3 separate regions of the Homo sapiens genome follow, and regions 2 and 3 are each linked to region 1. The links are contacts of gene promoters, found by promoter capture Hi-C in blood cells and fetal thymus (Javierre and others, 2016). All regions are on one chromosome and are shown on one strand. The core of a region is centred on a gene start or on the middle of the fragment in contact, and the rest is flanking DNA. Distances in the headings are between cores, read along the strand shown.

Region 1 (3,440 bases), core at 261-2,760:
GTACATCTCTTATCCTTTTTCACACAAAGGTTCACATCCCCCAACACCAGCAAATCTTTACCCCACACATCAAATGCTGAACTGTTCCTTAGACTTAAGAGTCAAAAGCAACTGAATGAAGATCCCTGAAAGATTAAGCTCAATGAAACTGCAAAGAGAGACTTGGCTATTCAGAAATAAAATGTGATACCATCCAGAAATCTTGGGTCACACATTTTCCGGCTAATACCTCCGGCACATTCTAATCCTCCTCCGCCGTGTGACCTAGAGCAAGTTACTTGGCCATTCTGGGCCTCATTTTCCTCTTATGTAAAACACGGATATAAACCAAGCTCTCTCTGGGAGTTGTTCTGAAGATGAGAAGGCCATAAAAAAGCACATTACAGGCTCGTGCCTGTAATCCCAGCACTTTAGGAGGCCGAGGTGGGTGGATCGCCTTAAGTCAGGAGTTCCACCAGCCTGGCCAACATAGTGAAACCCCGTCCCTACTAAAAATACAAAAAGTTGCCGGGCGTGGTGGTGGGCGCCTGTAATCCCAGCTACTAGGGAGGCTGGGGAAGGAGAATCGCTAGAACCTGGGAGGCGGAGGTTGCAGTGAGCCGAGATCGCGCCACTGCACTCCAGCCTGGGCGACGGAGTGAGACTCCGTCTCAACAACAACATAAAACCACATTACGCGCTACCAAGCGCGAAATGTTCACTGACTGTTAGCGATTGTTCTTCCCTTCCCTGATGATTTACGTACTTCAGACCTTGGATCCCAACAGTGCCCGAGACGCGAAGCAATTCGAGGTTCAGGTTCGGGAAGGTTGTGCTTGGAAGCTGCGTCGAGGGAGAGCTTGAGGGCAAGACCAACCAACCAAGTCCCCTGTCATCCAAGTCCACAAGCCTCGCACCCAGGACCAAAGAAAGACAAGGGGGAACCTGGATCTGGGTTTTCCCTCAGGAAAACAGCAAAGACCGACTTGGAGGCTGAAGCAGCATTAGGGAACGGGCCGGGGAGAAATTACTTCCTGAAAACTCTCTCAGCAAGGAAGGACCCCTCTCTACACCACTTAACCTGCCTGCATCAAGAGAACAGCAGCCTCCGGGAGCCAGGAACCCCGCTCCTCTCTCTCTTACCCGGCTCTCCATACGGAATGGTCTCGGCCCAGATGCTCGGCTCCTCTTCCTGGATGTCCAGAACCCTGTCAATAGACTTCTGGGCCTGGGACAGGGCCTGCTTAGCGAAGCTGGAGAGCTGGGAGGCGTTGAACCAACTCATCGCCCCTCCTCAGCCGGCAGTGGCGGCGGCAGCACCAAGCGGGAAGGCCTCAGGCCTGGGGAAGGGTGCAGAGGAACGGCTTCGCTCCCCTTTTCCACTCGGCTGGTTCTGTCAGCGTGTGGCCATTACCCCGACAGCCTCCCGCGAGCCCGGGATGTTACCCTCGGCCGTTCCCGCACAGCTGAGACGAAGGGGGCCCATGTGCGCATGCGCTTGCTTCTTCCACGTACACAGCAACCAAATCTACGAGCCCAGAGTTCGGTCGACAGACGGAAGAACAGAAGAACGTTGACGTCACATCCGGGAGCGCAGGGTTGCCGTTAGTTACCGAGGAACGCGGAAGGGTTTCTATTGATGTCGATTTCGTGCTTACAGCAGTTCTTAGCGAAGGGGAAGCTATGGCTACCGATAGAGGTCGATTTCCCCGGAAGGAATATTCAAGTTTTCGTGTGTGTGCTTTCCAGGAAAATAGTTCACGTGCTAAAAGCTTGCACCTTGCCAGCAATAATTGCAAAGGGAAATTGGGCCTCACACTTCTCTTAGCCCTTTGTCTCAAATATTTAATAAGCTCTGTATTAACTTGGTATTGTAAGGAGAAACACTTGTTTGGGCTTGCCTAAAAGACAGGATCACGTATGAACACTGTGTCCAACTCGTGGAACACATGGTGCATAAAGCACAACCTCTCTCTCAAAATAGTAGTAAACTCATTGCTGCAGTCAAAATACCCCTAATACTGTGGTCTGTCGGTGTCCCCTGCACAAATTCCTATGTTGAAACCTAATCTCCAATGGGACAGTATTAAGGGGAGCCTTTAGGAGATGATTAGATGATGATGGAGCCCTCATAAATGGGGTTAGTGCCCTTATAAGAGAGGCCCAAGGGAGCTCACGGCAAGAAGGCACCAACTCTAAGCCAGAATAGCAGCCCTCACCAGACACCAAATCTGCCGGCTCCTTATCTTGGACTTCTCAGCCTCTAGAACTGTTAAGAAACAAATTGCTACTGCTTATAAGCCACCCAGTTTATGGCAATTTGTTACAGCAGTCCAAATGGACTAAGACACCTAGGAAGCACTAAAGCTGTTATCCTAACAATGTGCACTGTGCATATTACTTAAAACATAACCTTTTCTGTGTGCATTCTCTTCGAACATTTGGACATGGGAAAATACCTTAAATTGGTGGCCTTCCTAATCCAGTCTGCAGCTATATTTGGTTTGGGCCCAAGTTAAAGACAAAATCCTAACTAAAAGCCAGATTTCATTCAAAAATCTAGATTTCCAGCTGCTTTTGAAAAATATGAATACCAAGCATGGGAATAGTCAGCCAGAGTGGTCACCAAATAATTTTCACTCACTCCAGTTTGCCACAGACCCCTATCACTCATCCTATTACACCCTCCCTGCTGTGATTATTTACCTTATATGCCTGCCTCCCATATTTGAATATTTTACCCCACTGCAAGGAACTCTGCAAAAAAGAATTATTTTTCTTTTAAAAAATCAGATTGAACCCCTTAAGAAGTTATAATCATCTTCCAATAATTTTATCTAACTACAGTAAAAACTTGCATGTTAAAACTAACAATTTAGTCATGTACACAAGTAGTACCAAGTAACTCAAGTACTTTCAAACAGCTAAGTAGTCTGCAGAGGAGATTTGGGGCAGATTCGGGTTGAAATTAGCTGTACAGTTACAGTTCCAAGACTTCTAATTGTACAGCTTTGGTGAAATGACCTACCTAAACCATCTAAAACTATTTATTCAGCTCTCAGATAGAGTCACCTTCTTACAATGCTACTTTGAGAATTATTATAGCACCTATATGGTGCTAAATTTTAGTTCCTTCACTTTCAAAATTGTAAGCTACACCTGTAACTTTTCAGGTAGAGCTTATAAATTTATTCCGTATGGTTTTATAATAAAACTTATTTGTCAATATGTAGCTAGAAAGATTACTGAAAACTTAACTCAGTGACACATAAGTAACCAAAAAACATTTGAACAGAAAACTGCCATATCTAAGTCAAAAACAAAGAATGAGAACACATACATGTTCTCATATTAAAATACTAGCACCTACTTTTTTAGTATTTGTACTTAATTTTGTTTGAAGTTTTATTCACTTAAAAGAAACAAAAACATGGTCAGGCATGGTGGCTCATGCCTGTAAT
Region 2 (3,440 bases), core at 941-3,440, 1.0 Mb before region 1:
CACTATTTTAAGATCTAAGGTTATAGCACTAGTTACATTATTAGACAAGTTTATGATCCTCAATTTCTTAATCTAGTACTACGTATGTTTGTCTTTTATTTATTTGGGGTAGACTATGCTCTGAAGTTTTTATAATGAGATATGTACCTCTATGCCTTGGTTTAGGGTCTCCCACAAGCAGACCTTCAGGCAGTTGTTTTGGTGGAGGCATCTTATTTGGATGGTAAGAAAACATGAACAGGAGTGGGGAAGTATGAAAGGAAAGGGAAGGCAGTCAAAAAAGAGTTAATTACCAAGCCACCTGCCATAGTGCGTGATAGAAACTTAATCCCCTGAAGAAACTCTGGGAAATCTGTAAAGCACACAACTCAGAAACACCTCACCTAAGGGCTGAGGAGCAGAGGAATTTATAATCCAACTCTTAAGTGTCATCGGTAGATACTCATGTGTGTGTATGTATGCGGGGGGCAAGAGGTGGGATGGTTTGATTCTTTGTTTGCCTTGTATGGTGAATGCCTCCATATCAATAAACTCCATTACCCAGCACTATATTTTGCTCCCTTCCCCTACCCCAAGGGTACAGAACTCTCAAAGTTCACTGCCACACCTGTTTTCCTAGTTTCGGTAGCTACCTATTAACCAGAACTTGAAACACAGTTATTAAATAATTCTTTACTTCTTGAAGCAGAGTAAGTGCTTCCTTACTCAAGCCATATTAGAACGTGGGGACAGATCTTGAGGAAGGCAAGTATCATCTCCCAAGGCTGCCTCCTAGGTGAAGCTTCTGCTTGGTCTCCCAGCAAGGAAAGGATGCTATATTCTAAGAATAAGATGTAGATAACTTCTGAAGTCTCAGAGGGTTAAGGAGAATCTGAGAGTTCAAGAGTCTGGAGTGCATTTACACAGATGTCCCTTTCCCTGGACATATCTCAGGGTTTTCCATCTTCTTTATCTATGCTCTGCCTTAGAATGTTGGCTGGGGCTGTTGCTTCAACACTCTAGACAGTTCTCTCACATCAGGTCCTAGCCCCGATTTTCAGCCTGATCTTTTCTCTGCCTGCAGAAGATGAGAGTCTCTTTAAATGATGCCGGAGAGGCCTCTGGCTTTCCATACTGAACCCTGGGTTGGTGTTCAGCTCACTTGAGCCTGTCATTTTCTTCTTTCAGCTCATTGATGGTACTTGGTCCAACTATCCAATTCCATAATCTTTCCAATGGCCAATGCCACCCTATCTCTCAAGTGCTAGAGAAATTGCATAAGCTAGTGCATCCTCTTCCAGCTGTGCCCCATCCCAATTCAATCTTAGGTAAGAGTCTCAGCAGTTATGATTTCATAGCACACCATTCCACTCGTGACTAGCAATGGTAATTTTGTTGCCATTTTGCTAGTTTCTAGCTGCAAAGACCAATTCTAGAGATCTGTTTCCTAGGACCACTTTGAGTTCCAACCTGAGTTCTCAGGTTTTAGTACTGAAAGTCCCACATCCTGAAAAGCTACAAGTTCTAGGCAAATTTGAAATGCTTTTCCTGGGACTGTCTTGGTTTTAAAATTGCAAGTCCCATGTCCCAGGAACACCCTCTGTCCTTACCAAACCAGATGGGTGGTCACCCAAGTTTCAACTGTGTAATTACTCCAGAATTAGATCCTGAGGTAGATCCAGGTTTATTTTGGAGATGCAAAACGCTTTAATATGATACAGTGAAGATAAGACAGCCAATCAATAAAAGAAACATTATTAAGCCAGATATCCCAGTGAGCAACCAGAGCTTAATCCCATGGGAAACTCCAGGAAATAGGGCAAAACACATGCTTCAGAAATTTCCCAGTAGAGAAGCAAGGGTGTGGGAGATTTACATGCCAATTTCTGAGAGTCATTGGCAAAGGGCTACTCCTAGAGGGTTTTAAATTCCAGGCACTTTCAGCCTGCTGGCCACGAATAGTATGGTTTGATTGTAGTTCCAAGAAAAAAAGCAAATTCTGGCTTAAGTATGCAGACATTGGCAGCAGGAATTTGGTGGGAGACTCTGAGGGGTCTGGATGAGACGAGTAGGGAAAATTAGCATTTGTTACTGCTCACCCCTTGCAATACCCAGATCCATTTGTGACCCCTGTTAAGTTGACATCATCATAGTAAGGGAGTGGCTGACTGGTCACGACTTATTACAGGAGTTTTTATGGGAAAAGCTACAATTCTGCCCATCATCTCTCTTCTCTAACACACGTTTTAGGTTCCTCTGCCCTTGGCCAGCAATTTGATTTCCCCAGTGAGGGCAGAGCATCCTCTCCTGAACCTGAATCAATGTATATTTCACCCTCTTGAATTGGGAGCTAGGAATAGAAACTCATAGTTTGTAGATTTGGCAGTGTGATAATTCAAATGCTGTCTAATGGTCCATAGTTAGAGATATTTCAGTTATCTATGTTATGGGGCCGAATCTCATCACTTGAAACAGAACTCCTGTATTCACCCAAGGCCAGCTCGTTCTCATCAGTGTTGAAAAGAGGTGATCCTGTGTATTTTCTTCATCCCTCTATTGCACATCACATTAATCATTTTACTGCATTAATGAGACAATATCAATTCCAATGCTTCATTTAAATATGGAACTTCATCTCAGGAAATGTGCTAAGGTGGAAGCAATCTGCTTCCTTTCCCTTTTTATACATTAGAAACAATTTTTAATTGTAATTTTATAACTTGGTCATTGCAGTGTGTGATATGCAAAATAAGGGCTCTCCCTAAAGATGTGCGTATCCCAATCCACAGAACCTGTGAATGGGTTACCTTACACAGCAAAAGGGACTTTGCAGGTGTTTTTAAATTAAGGATCTTGGTATGGGAAGATTATCCTGGACTACCTGAGTGGATTCAATGTAATTACAAGAATTCTTGTAAGTGAAAGATACAGCCTCCAGTGAGAGTCAGAGAAGGAAATGTGACGACAGAAGCAGTGGGTGGAGTGGCACAATGGTTGGTTTGAAGACAGAGGAAGTGGTCATGAACCAAGTGATGTGGGTGGCTTCTAGAAGCTAGAGAAGGCAAACAATGGATTCTCCCCTAGAACCTTCAGAAGGAGTGCAGCCCTGCTGACACCTTAATTTAAGACACCTGAAATGCATTTCAGACTTCTGATCTCACTGCAAGGTAATACATTTTTGTATTTTAAACCACTAAGTTCATGGTAGTTTGCTACTGCAGCAATAAGAAACTAATCACAGGTGTAAAGGATGACAATCATCTTTGCAGCTGAAGTGGAAGCAGTGATGTCTCTACTTCTGCTGGAACTATAGTATAGATGCTAATAATCTAGTTAGTGAAATCAAGTTCACAGCTCTATCACTTACTCGCTATGTGGCCTTGAGAAAGTTATGCAACAACTTTAAGGCTTGGTTTCCTCATCTGTAAGATGGGGGAAATAAGGATTTGTATCTTATATTG
Region 3 (3,440 bases), core at 609-3,108, 780 kb after region 1:
GGGGACCTAGTGGATGAGTTCAGTTTCTGGGGATTGTCTGCAAAGTGATAATATCTACATTGATAATCCTAAATTGATTAAGAGTGCATGTCAAGCGTTGTTTCCTTCCACCCTCATATCTTGTGATAGGGCCATAGCAGTTGTTCTTTTCTTCCCCTTTTCTGTGTGAATCCTGCAGCAGTATGATATGGGCCAGCCTATGATGCGGAAGTAAAAGAAAAACCAGAATAAGGTGCCTTGAGGATTATCTGGTCTGATCCCTTTATTTTTGAGATGGGGAAACTGACCAAGAGTGAGGTTAAGTGTGTTGCTCTCAAGAGTGTCCACCTAGTTAGAAAACACAAAAATATAGCAAAACAGATCTGATTCCTAGCTGGTTGTTTCCCTCCAAACTTTACTTTTTAATCTCTAATGATTTATTTCTTTATATTTATATATTAAGATTTACAAAACTTGGAAAAATATGATATATACTTTAAAATTAAATGATATTTTAGTCCACATTAAAAGAATAGATCAGTAAATGTCTTGTGCAGGTGCATCTTTTTAAAATTTTACACTACATATATTGAAGTGGAATACATAGAGAGGAGAATGTACATATTATAAGTGTACACCATGATGATTTATTGACAAACTGGACTCTCGTTAACCAGCCCTCAGGTAAACTAATTGAACATTACCTGCACCCTAGATGCTTCCTTCCTGTGCCTTTTATTCACTACCCCTCCCAAGGTTAACCAGTATCTTAACTACCAACTGCATAGATTAATTTTGCCTGTCTTGTCCTTTATAGAAATGGAACAAGCCATATGGTCATATAGTAGGTACTTACTTGGGCCTGGCATCTTTTGTTCATGATTATGTTTGGGAAATTGATTCTTCCTCATTGCTGTAAGTAGTTATATAGTTCATTCATTTTCATTTCCATATAGTATTTCATTATCTAATCCTACTAGGATTTAGTTATCCATTCTACTGTTGATGGATATTTGGAGCCTTTTCTAATTTGGGGCATTTACAGTGAGGCTATGAACATTCATTATAATTACTTTTAAAAACTTTTGGACATTGGAAGACAGCAAAATGTGAGGTTGAAGACACAAGCTTGGAGTTAGACAACTCATTAACTGTTCAGTCTTGGTCTAGTTCTTTATGTTCATGAGCCTGTCTCCTCATTGGCAATGGGCTTACTAATACCAGTTGTGCAGGGTTTGGGAAATAATGGAATAAAATGATGGATACTGTGCACAGTGCTTGACACATAAGTACTCAAATAATGGAAGCTGCCATTACTTTTTAAATTAAAGTTTTATACATTATAGCAAAGTATCAGCCAAGCTTATTTTACTATTTGTATCTGGTTGCTTGTACACAGTGTTTTTCATTTTCTCAGGGCCTGCACATGCTTTATCTTTGGAGTAATGTTTGATTCTTTATCTTTCCTTTCCCTTCCTCTCTGCCACAATTATTACCTGCCTGTTGTATTCTAGGTACTGGGGACAGGAACTGAATAAATGAGCAGACATTATTCATTCCTGAGTTTTCTTCTCAGTTTTTGCTGTTGTATTAGCCTACATCCTCCTCTTCTCATGCCATCCTCTGAATGCTAACATTGCTCTTTGACAGCCTCTCACCAGTGTAACCCATCCTATCTGAGGGGGACAGGATCATCTTTCTCCAGTACCACCACTGCCAGTTGAGTTCTTTAGTGAGGACTTGAGAAAATTCAGCTTTACCCTCAAGTCTTCAACAGACACTGTGGTGCAGGCTTTTCTCCTAAAGATGTGGATGTGCAGTGAGACAAAGCCACTGTATCAGTCAGCAGAGGCTAAGTTTTGCTGCATTAACAAAGGACTCCAAAATTTTATGACTTACAAAACTCACAGATTGACAGTAGCTCTGATCTTTGTCCAATTCCTTCTGAAACAAAGGCTTAATGAGCACTATCCATTTGGGACATATTTGTCTTGAATAGGAGAAAAAAGGAAACGGAGGAACCACAGAGTGGCTCTTAGAACTTCTGCTGGGAAGTGGCATATGTCACTTGTACTCACATTTGTTTGCCTACAACACGTCAAGCCTGATATCAATGGGGAGGGAAATATAAACCTCCCAGAGAGAGCAATCGGTAGGAAGGGACTTGGCACAGAGTCCCTTGGCTCAGTCATGTTTTAAACATGTTTTAAACACTTCCATTGAATCAGTGGACATGACTTTTGGAATATAATTCCCAATTTATTTTCCCTTTTTTTTTTGACCTTCACATCACTTTACTGTCAAATCAGCAAACTGGCAATGCACAAGATATACAGAAGACCAAGGCTCCAAATTAGTGGCCCAGGCACCCTGATGACTTCCTGTTTCTCAGAAAAGTAAGCTTGGGCAGCAGTGACCTCCACAGCCTATGATAAATGAGGAATCAACAGTTGCATTCCATAATTCAATAAATAGTTCTTCCTTCTGCCAGGTGATGTGATGGAAGCTCTGTGCAGCTTCAAAGTAAGAGTTGACTTCTGCGTCTATACAATTCTTGTCATAAATGTGATCAAGTATATCTTTACCTTTCTATACAGTTGGCCCAAGGTATGATTACTGGCATGGGTGCCAGCTAATAAGTAAATCAGTCAGTATTGACACCATGTTTAGCCTCAAGCATGCTTTTCTCTGGAATGCACATTTGGATGAACTTTGAGGAAAATTATTAACTCACCCCAACTTAAGGAGCTTTGACCGACCAGAGATTTCAGGATTATGTGTACATAGTTTCAAACGTTGTATTTTAAGATGAAGAATAATTTAAGAAGATTAGTGAGCATCCTTCATTAATCTGGAGCTATTTTAGTAATAATAAAAAAGGGCAACTTGTTTTCATCTTAGAAGAGTAATAGGTCAGTTTTATTTATAGGTGATATCTAATCAATTTTTTATTTAGCTTGTATAGGATGATTCTCAAGTAGATAATGTTAACTCACCTAGAATAAAGGAAACCACTTGTTACCTAAGTATACGACATTTTAATAGCTTTTAAAAAATTCACCATACTAGTTTACACAATAAAATGTTTCTATAAGTCTGTGTATATGTATATATAAATATAGAAGGTAAATATACAGATTATATTATATAAATAGATAAATATAAAATCACCATGGTATTTTGATATATAAAATGAGTCTCATTATAATGATTCCACTAAATGTACAACCTGTTATAAAATGAGTGATAATCTGACCCTCATTTCTGTGTTTTAATCTTGGGATGATTTGAAGTAAGGCATAATCATGTATGAACATATTCCTGGAGTCTGACATGAGCATCATGAACTTGCTAATTTTATTCCTTGATGGTTTATATAAGTGTCTGACAAATTTAATAGGAAGCAGAGCTTTATTTTTTTTCATTATCAGCTAGAGAACAAAAACATTGGCATCTGAATT

What was found. The method cuts DNA at HindIII sites, captures the fragments that hold promoters and counts their contacts. A CHiCAGO score of 5 or more calls a contact.
Region 2: a fragment that was not itself captured here is called in contact with the fragment with the promoter of TMF1 in region 1 in 2 of 17 cell types (total CD4 T cells and naive CD8 T cells); the score reaches 6.0 in total CD4 T cells.
Region 3: a contact is called between a fragment that was not itself captured here and the fragment with the promoter of TMF1 in region 1, in 1 of 17 cell types (M0 macrophages). The highest score is 5.2, in M0 macrophages.

What each region holds. Positions count from the first base shown.
Region 1 is chr3:69,050,823-69,054,262 of GRCh38, forward strand. TMF1 (TATA element modulatory factor 1) reads right to left here and starts at 1,511. Exons shown (of 17, transcript NM_007114.3): 1 at 1,123-1,511. The coding sequence starts at 1,264. RefSeq lists an enhancer at 1,103-1,572. The HindIII fragment of the contact is 2,649 bases long and covers 1-1,749 here.
Region 2 is chr3:68,054,844-68,058,283 of GRCh38, forward strand. The region is part of intron 2 of TAFA1 (TAFA chemokine like family member 1); the gene reads left to right. Among named protein-coding and RNA genes, the nearest start is that of TAFA1, 52 kb to the left of the region's middle. The HindIII fragment of the contact is 2,823 bases long and covers 780-3,440 here.
Region 3 is chr3:69,825,485-69,828,924 of GRCh38, forward strand. The region is part of intron 1 of MITF (melanocyte inducing transcription factor); the gene reads left to right. Among named protein-coding and RNA genes, the nearest start is that of MITF, 88 kb to the left of the region's middle. The HindIII fragment of the contact is 1,039 bases long and covers 1,340-2,378 here.